2 separate regions of the Homo sapiens genome follow, and region 1 is linked to region 2. The links are contacts of gene promoters, found by promoter capture Hi-C in blood cells and fetal thymus (Javierre and others, 2016). All regions are on one chromosome and are shown on one strand. Each heading gives the region's core, a stretch centred on a gene start or on the middle of the fragment in contact. The rest is flanking DNA. Distances are from core to core; before and after follow the strand shown. Region 1 overlaps BMPR1A (bone morphogenetic protein receptor type 1A). Region 2 holds the start of OPN4 (opsin 4).

What was found. Contacts are between HindIII fragments. The CHiCAGO score rates a contact against its expected background, and 5 or more counts as called.
Region 1: a fragment that was not itself captured here is called in contact with the fragment with the promoter of OPN4 in region 2 in 1 of 17 cell types (M1 macrophages); the score reaches 5.2 in M1 macrophages.

Annotation. Positions count from the first base shown.
Region 1 is chr10:86,915,499-86,920,034 of GRCh38, reverse strand. BMPR1A (bone morphogenetic protein receptor type 1A) reads right to left here. Exons shown (of 13, transcript NM_004329.3): 9 at 2,709-2,901; 10 at 566-863. Among named protein-coding and RNA genes, the nearest start is that of MMRN2, 40 kb to the left of the region's middle. The HindIII fragment of the contact is 5,300 bases long and covers 1-3,900 here.
Region 2 is chr10:86,652,855-86,657,358 of GRCh38, reverse strand. It overlaps OPN4 (opsin 4), which reads right to left and starts at 2,812. Exons shown (of 10, transcript NM_033282.4): 1 at 2,432-2,812; 2 at 1,059-1,204. The coding sequence starts at 2,575. The HindIII fragment of the contact is 3,648 bases long and covers 1,770-4,504 here.

The DNA.
Region 1 (4,536 bases), core at 1-2,500, 260 kb before region 2:
AAGAATGAAGTAGATTTACATCAGCTGAAATGGAAGGATGGCTAAGACTATATGGCACACACCTGTAATCCCAGCACTTTGGGAGGATCAGCTGAGCCTAGGAGTTTGAGACCAGCCTAGGCAACACAGTGAGACCCCATCTCCGCAAAAAATAAAAACATTAGCTAGGTGTGGCAGTGCATGCCTGTAGTCCCAGCTACTCAGGAGGCTGAGGTGGGAGGATTGCTTGAGCCCATGAGGTCGAGGTTGCAGTGAGCTAAGATCACACTACTATATTCCAGCCTGGGCAACTGAGTGAGACACTGTCTTTAAAAAAAACAAAAAACAAAAAACAAAAAACAAACAAAAAAAAACACCAAAAAAATATATATATATCAAGAATTATGTATAGGAGAAGTAGGACACAATTTTTGTAAAAAGAACAAAATCCCCCCCAACTATACATTTATGTAACTAAAAACAAGCATATGCACATTTTTAGAATTCCATTATCTTGAATACAAATAGGGAAATATCTTTTGGAAATTAAAATAATTTCAAAACAGTGGGGCAAAGAACCACTCACCTGTTGAATTTAACAGCAAGGCCCAGGTCAGCAATGCAGCAACTCCCATTTTTCTTGATGAGGATGTTTTTGCTCTTTAGGTCTCGATGAGCAATTGCGGGCTTTCCTTGGGTGCCATAAATTTCTGTGTGCAGGTGGCACAGACCACAGGCAGCTGAATAAGCCAATTTAAGCAGGGCTCTGGTGTCCAGTGTAGCACATTTCAGGAAGTCATAGAGAGATCCATTTTCATGGTAATCAGTAATCAAATAGAGCTGAGTCCAGGAACCTGTACCTTTAATGTCTGCCGCTATGAAACCTGTCCAGTTGATGAGTTTAAAAGGTTAGTTATCATCAGAGATAGGCTAGGGAGAAGTAATGCTCATTCTGGATACTGAGAAAAACTTAGGTATCATGTGCAGATAGTGAAACTTTAATTCGCCTGACACCAAGTCGTGAATGTGTTACTAAAAATTATATTTCTACATTTACACATATATCTGTACTTCTACAATAAATTTATAATAATCTTAATAATCATGAAAGTGAATAGGATTAAGAAAAAGATCATATATGCTGGGTGTGGTGGCTCACACCTGTATCACTTTGGGAGGCCAAGGCAGGAGGATCACTTGAGGTCAGGAGCTCGAGACCAGCCTGGCCAACAGGGCGAAACCCCGTCTCTACTAAAAATACAAAAATTAGTTGGGCATGGTGGCAAGTGCCTGTGGTCCCGGCTACTCTGGAGGCTGAGGCAAGAGAATCACTTGAACCTGGCGGCAGAGGTTGCAGTGAGCCAAGATGGCGCCACTGCACTCCAGCCTGAGCGACAGAATGAGACTCCGTCTCAAAAAAAAAAAAAAGAAAAGAAAAGGAAAGAAAAGAAAAAGATGACATATTATACAAATAACCTGGAGAATATTATCAACCTACATGATTCTCTAGTAGAAAAGGCTCTCAATTTCAAAGCAAAAAGTGGACACTTTTATAAAATTAAGAATGTTCAACTAAGAGTTAGCTCCTAATTAAGCCAACTCCCATTTGCCCATCAGTGACTCATCACAGCTGCCTTTTCAGTCTGGCTCGTTGACTGCCAGGCCCACAGTCCTGCTCTTTTCCTTTCTCTCCTACCCTCTTCCCTCCAGAAAAAGGTCAGTGAGTGCTATGTACTGAGCTGAACAGTGCTCCCCGACAAAATTCATGTCTAAAATCCATGTCATCTATAAACGTGACCTTATTTGGAAAGAGGGTCTTTGCAGATGTAATCAAGTTAAGATGACTCATACAGGATTAGCGTGGGCCCGAATTCAATGGCTGGTGATGTTGTAAGGTGGAAATGTGGACCCAGGCACCCAGGGAGAAGGCCACCTGATGACAGAAATGGAGACTAGAGTGTTGTCTATACTAAGCCAAGGAACACCAAAAATTCCTGGCCACCAACCAGTAGCCAGAGGAGGCAAGGAAGGCTCCTCCTCTAGAGTATTCAGAGACACAACAGCTCTGCCAACACCTTGGTTTTAAACTTCTAGCCTCGAAAACTGAGTGAATACGTTTTGGAGGTTGAAGCCACCCAGTTTGTGGTAATTGATACAGCAGCCCTAGGAAACTAATACAATTGCCTGCTTGGCAACATGCTATGGGCTCTCCAAATTAAAGGGAGGAAAACAAGAGGTGAAGGGAAAAGAAAACTCAGGATAGCCAGATCGGCTTATGTACCTGACTGACCAGCTCACACCTAAATTACTTTGCTATTGTGTAAATGTGGAGATGGGGGGAAACACACATTAAACACAGAACGTACAATGAAACTGCATGTTGGGCTGTTGAGCTTATGAAAGGGAAAAGGCACATATGTTAATGTTACCCTAAATCACTGCTTAAGTTATCTATAAAAGACTGGGTTTTCATTACTATGGGAGTAAGTCCAATAAACTAGTATTATTTTCCATTTGAAACTCACTGCTGTTTCTTCAGCTGGTTAGTAAAGAAAGATCTTGGTTGGCATTCCGGACTATGTTTTATTCAAACCGTGTATTCTACTAGGTTTCCTTTAGCCAAATGTATATAGTTGAACTCACACATTTTCAAAGCACATATGGAGGCTTCCACCTGTACCTCACTAGCCTTGTCAAAAATGAAATTGACTGAATCAGTGTGTACCCACCAAGTATGTTTTCATGGCGCATTAGCACAGTTTGGTAGATTTCTGTTTCTCGAAACCAGCTGGCTTCTTCAGTGGTAAAGAATACTTTCACCGCCACTTTTTCGCCACGCCATTTGCCCATCCATACTTCTCCATATCGGCCTTTACCAACTTGCCGGACCATCTGAATCTGTTTGGCAATAGTTCGCTGAACCTTTATAGAAAAAAGTAAAAGGTTTGAGCTCTTGATGAAAGAAACCCATTAAGACTGGCAAAGGGGTAGTCCATCTCATCAAAAAGCATGGTGTACCCAACCAACTCCAGTTAAAAACTTATAATGTACTTTTTTTTTTTTGAGATGGAGTCTCGCTCTGTCACCCAGGATGGAGTGCAGTGGCGCGATCTCGGCTCACTGCAACCTTCACCTTTTAGATTCAAGTGATTCTCCTGCCTCAGCCTCCCAAGTAGCTGGGATTACAGACACCCGCCACCATGCCCAGCTAATTTTTTTGTATTTTTAGTAGAGATGGGGTTTAGCCACGTTGACCAGGCTGGTCTTGAACTCCTGACCTCAGGTGATCCACCCCACCCCCGGCCTCCCATAATGCTGGGATTACAGGCGTGAGCCACCATGCCCGGCCATAATGTACTTTAAAGTATGAAACAATGTACAATGTATTCTGAAATCATAAACAGGTTATTCAAGTGGCTGGCTGTTTGCAAAAATGGTCATAATAATTACCCTCCCAGTGCACACAGTCGTGGGTAGTCTTGGTCCACAGACTCAGGGCTTAGGCCACATGACTTGCTTTGGATAAAAGAACAACAGCGAACGTGATGCAAGCAAAGACCTGACAAATGTTTGTGGACTGGGGCTTGCCCCCTTCCTGCTGCTTTGGGAACCCTGTGACCAAAAAATAATGGCAGCATGAACTGTCGGCCAAGGGTGTGAACTACACCACCTAGCTCTAGCTAAGCAAGTCCAACAAATGAACTGCCCCACAGACTCACAGAATGAGAAATAATGTTTGTTGCTTCACATCACTAAGTTTTGGGGTGGTTTATTATGCAGCAAAGTCCAAATAACAGTTAAAGATCTTAAAAATCCCATCTATAAGACCCTGCCTGATCTGGCCTGGTCCCATTATTTGCTTTGACCACCCACCCACAAACCTCGTTTGACTTATCTCAACTTTTAGAATTCACTCAAGCTTATTCCTGTCGCTGGGTTTTTTTGAATATCCAGTTCCCTTTACTTAGAGTGCTATTTTCTCACTTAAACACCTTCATAGCACACAAAACCTCTCAGTTGCTGCGCTTAACACAATCATAACTTTATTCTTATTTACATATATATTTGCTTGAATTCCATCCCCTGCTCACAGAATATAAGTATTTATTTGGGACAATATCAGAAGTACTTTAATATTTGTTAAATAAAAGATGTACATGGATTGTTATCTTTCATTTTCAGAAGCATTAGTGATCATTCTAAATTAAAAAGAACATTATGCTCCAAGTTGGAAATGCTTCTAAAATGGACTAGATTTAGTGCAAAGCTAAAGTGACTTTATGTATCATTTATTATAGAATCCTTTTGTAAATTTTGTTCTGTTTTTTTGAGACAGAGTCTCGCTCCGTTGCTCAGGCTGGAGTGCGGCGGCCAATCTCAGCTCACTGCAACTTCTGCCTCCCCAGTTAAAACAATTTCCTGCCTCAGCCTCCCGAGCAGCTGGGATTACAGGCATCTGCCACCACGTCCAGCTAATTTTTGTATTTTTAGTAGAGACAGGGTTTCACCATGTTGGCCAGACTGGTCTCGAACACCTGACCTCAAGTGATCTGCCTG
Region 2 (4,504 bases), core at 1,563-4,062:
ATCTACCCTGAGGGAGGCGTCATTGTCCCCATTTTCCAGACAAGATGCTCCCACTCATGAAGTGACTTGCTCCGGTGCACAGCACTCAGTAAGTGGCTCATCTGTGGGGCAACGCACATCCGTGAACTTACTGCATCATCACAGTGACTCCACGAAGCACAGCTCTGTTTTGCGGAAAGAAAAGTGAGCTCAAGGAGGAGAAATGACGTGCCCAGTCCTTCAGCTGGCAGGTGGGAGAGCCAGGGGGCTGTGTGGCCCTGCAGCCTGGGTTCCCTTCTCCACCTGCCTGTCTCAGCCACTGAGCCAGGCAGGGGGGCAGATGGAGAGGGACACTGGGGGTGGGTGTCAGGGGTGTTTGAGGGACTTGAGGATGCTGGTCCCCAGGGCTGCTCTTTTTTTTTTTTTTTTTTTTTTGAGATGGAGTCTTGTTCTGTTGCCCAGGCTAGAGTGCAGTGGCATGATCTCGGTTCACTGCAAACTCCGCCTCCCAGGTTTAGGCGATTTTCCTGCCTCAGCCTCCCAAGCAGCTTGGATTATAGGCACACACCACCACACCTGGCTAATTTTTGTATTTTTAGTAGAGACGGGGGTTTCACCACATTGGCCAGGCTGGTCTCGAACCCTGATCTCAGGTGATCTGCTCGCCTTGGCCTCCCAAAGTGCTGGGATTACAGGCGGGAGCCACCACGCCTGGCCTAGAGCTGCTCTTCAACGCAGGGGGAGGATGCTCTCTGGGGCAGGTGACGGAGAGGTGCGCTGAGAGCAGGGCAGAATGGTCAGAGACCCACATACTCTGGGCACACACACCCTCCACAGAGGATGCACCTGGGTCTCAATTAGTGCCAGTCAGTCAAGTCTCCCTGGACCATTTTTGGCCCTTTCCGTGACCTTCAGGAAGGTCTGGGCCTGAGATCATCGAAGGCATGGCCCTGCCCTCCTTGCCTAGCCTCAACAGTGCCCTGGCCAGAGCTAGAGTCAACATTCCTGCCTGCATTTTCTTCCCTGTCTGCATGGCTGCCACCCTCAGTGCCCTGGGCCCAGCACCACCAACCAGGCACCTGCAGAAGGTATAGATGACCGTCAGGTTGCCCAGCATCCCCGTGAGTCCCACCAGCAAGATCACTGTGCCCAGGGTATAGTGGGCATGGTCTGGAACATCAACCGTGGGGAGGGGGACCCAGGCAGCAGCCCAAGTCCCAGGTGCCTGCGGAGAGACAGAGAAACGAGGGAATCATGTTATCGCTTGTCACCTTCAAATAGTCCTGAGAAGGAAGAGTTAGGATTCTCAACAGGGCAGGTGGGAAAACTGAGGCTCAGAGTGGCAAAGCCAGTTGCACACACAGCTCACAAGTGGCCAAAAGCAGAAGGGAAGTGCAGGTCCTTTCTAAAGTCCAGCCCAAGCTCCTAGAACATGGCACAGGGGCCTTCTAGGAGTGGGCTCAGATCACCTGCTGGAGGCTGGTAGGACAGACAGACATGTGACTGGCAAGCAGGGACATGGCCCTGGTCACCCTATCTTTCCTTAGGGAGAAGACAGAGCCAACTCCTGGGTGCATCCCTGCCTGCAGTATGGACTCCAGCCCAAGGGCCCAAGACAGTTTTTGAGGCCTCTAGACGCTGGGGTGGTGAGTCGGGTGGAGCCCCTCTCAAGAGTCCCGTCCCCTACTGAGCCTTAGAGGAGAAGCTGCATTGCCCAATAGCATAGCTGGGTACAGCTAACCTTGATGCCTGGCATGAAAATGAAGGGAATTCCCTTTAGAAAGAAAGCTTAGGCCTCCCAGGGTCACTGAAGGGAGGTCATGACCATATCAGGTCAGGACAAAGGGATTTAAAGACTCCTCCCACCCTAACCCCTTTCTGGGGAAGAGAGGGTGGCTTGGTCTCTGTCCTGCCGCAGTGGCCCCTATAGCTACCGGAGCCTTCCCATCCTGTCCAGCACCTGGGCCAGCATCCCCAGGTCCTGAGGGTGCCCTCGGCCTTCCCCAGGTAGCAGTGGTGTTGATGGAATATGGCCCTGGGCCTGGGCTAGGATGATGGAGGTGGCAGAAGGCACCCAAGGCTTCACTGTGGGCTTGGCAGATCCAGAGGCCCAGGGTGTGCCCTCCTCCCTGGAGGGCTCCATGGGGCATCCGAGCAACCTCTGAAAGGAATGAGTGCAGCCAAGGACAGGTCTGGCCATTCCAGCCCCTTGTCCTCAGGGCTGGCATTTCTGTTCCTTGAATGCTCTCCATGAGGAAGGACATTGCCTGCACCCTCCTCTATCAGCCTGTTTATCAGGGGCGGGCTCAGAGAGGTCCAGTAATGGCTCAAGGCCCCACAGCAGAGTTCAGACCTTTTCTATCTCCCTGTCAAAGCCCCTGTGTGTGGCCAGGAGGGGACCAGGAAGGGGTCAGGGAAGGCTCTGTGCATGCACATGCTCGCCCAGGCTTACTGTGGGACTGATGGATGGAAGCCGGCCCAGGCTGGAGATGCTGCTCTGGGAGCTGTCCCACCAGCTGGGTGGTGCTGGGGTGGCCATGCAGCTGGGCTCTTGGGTTGGGCTGGGCGGGACTCTTGGCCCCGAAGGAGGGTTCATCCTGAGTTGGGATGGTCCTTGCTCGAGCCCACAGAGAAGTCAAGGGCACAGGGAGCTCAGGACTTCAGCTGTGCTCAGCCTCCCAACTTTCCTCCATCCTCAGCACCCCTGCTTAGCCTACCCGCTGCTTTCTCCTGTGTCCGGCGCAGATCCAGCCTGGAGCTGCTCTTGGGGCTGGCGGTTGCTCTGTGTCTGGTGAAGCGCAAATGAGTGAGTGTCGCAGTTATGGTGACTCACAGCCACAGAGTTCATCCCCATCTTTATATAGCGATGTGGGAGCTGCACATGCTCAGTCGCTCCATGCCGCCAGCTCACTCAGACCAAGGTCTCTGGGTGTCTATCTACGAAGGTCTGATGATGGTGGCGTGAATGTGTATGTGTGAGTGTGTGTGTGTGTGTGTGTGTGTTTCAAGGGAGACTTCTGGAATGATGGTGGCATGAATGTGTGTGTGAGTGTGTGTGTTTCAAGGGAGATTTCTGGATGATGGTGGTGTGAATGTGAGTGTGTGTGAGTGTGTGTGTGTGAGTGTGTGAAAGTGTGTGTTTCAAAGGAGACTTCTGGGATGATGGCGTAAATGTGTATGTGAGTGTGTATGTGTTTCAAGGGAGATTTCTGGGATGGTGTCATGAATGTGTGCGTGTGTGTGTGTGTGTGTGTGAGGGTTCGTGAGTGTGTGTGTTTCAAGGAAGATTTCTGGGATGGTGTTGGGAATGTGTGTGAGTGTGTGTGTGTGTGAGTGTGTATGTGTTTCAAGGGAGATTTCTGGGATGATGGTGGTGTGAATGTGTATGTGTGTGAGTGTGTGTGTTTCAAGGGAGATTTCTGAGCTGACAGTGGTGTCAATGTGTGAGTGTGTGTGCATGTGAGTGTGTGTGAGTGTGAGTGAGTGAGAGCATGTGTGTGTGTGAGAGTGTGTGTGAGAGTGTGTGTTTCAAGGGAGATTCCTGGGCTCGGGCTCTTGGACATTGGGCAGAAGGCTGTGTCCTCTCCTTTGACCAGTCTCTGTTGTGTTTCTTCCCTGAGCTCATCAAGAGCAGCCTCAGCCATCCCAAGAGCCCCCAGAGCTGTTTGTGGGCAGCTGAGCCTGTGCAGCCCAGCCTCACCCTTGTCACAGTGGGCCCTACCACCATGTTTGGCCCCCATGAGCCATGGCATTTTCACAGTCACCCTGCATAGAACCAAGGCTGGTCACCCTTTCACAGATGGAGACACAAGGAGGATGTAGCAGTAGGGTGAGATCAGATCACGAGGCGGCTTTTGCTTGTTTTTTGATAAGAAAGTTTTATTTTTTTATTTTTATTTTTTTTGAGACAGTCTTGCTCTGTCACCCAGCCTGGAGTGCAATGGTGCAATCTCAGCTCACTGCAACTTCCGCCTCCCAGGTCCAAGCAATTCTCCTGCCTCAGCCTCCCGAGTAGCTGGGATTACAGGCACTCGCCACCACACCTGGCTAATTTTTGTATATTTAGCAGAGGCAGGAGTTCACCATGTTGGCCAGGCTAGTCTCGAACTCCTGACCTCAGGTGATCCACCCACCTCGGCTTCCCAAAGTGCCAGGATTACAGGCGTGAGCCACTGGGCCCGGCAGAAATTTTTAAAGTATAAAGATTTTTTAAAACCTTATTGGGAGAGTCCCAGGAACTCACCCAGGCCTGCAGGCCTGATCCAAGTTGACTGGATGTCAGAAGTGGAGGGGACCCCGGGCCTGCCCCTTGCCCTGTCTTAGAGGAGGCAGCAGGAGCTGGAGAGAAGGGAAGCTGAACACACGGCTTCCAGGGAGGGCTGCTCGGGCTAGGCCTGCCACAGAGGCTGCGTTTAGGGGAGCCCGACCGGGCAGCGGTCATCCTAAGTGGGGGCCATGTCCTGGCACAGTGCTGGGAGTGTTGGAGCCCTGGAGTGGACAGAGATATCACTCCTCTTCCAGAAGT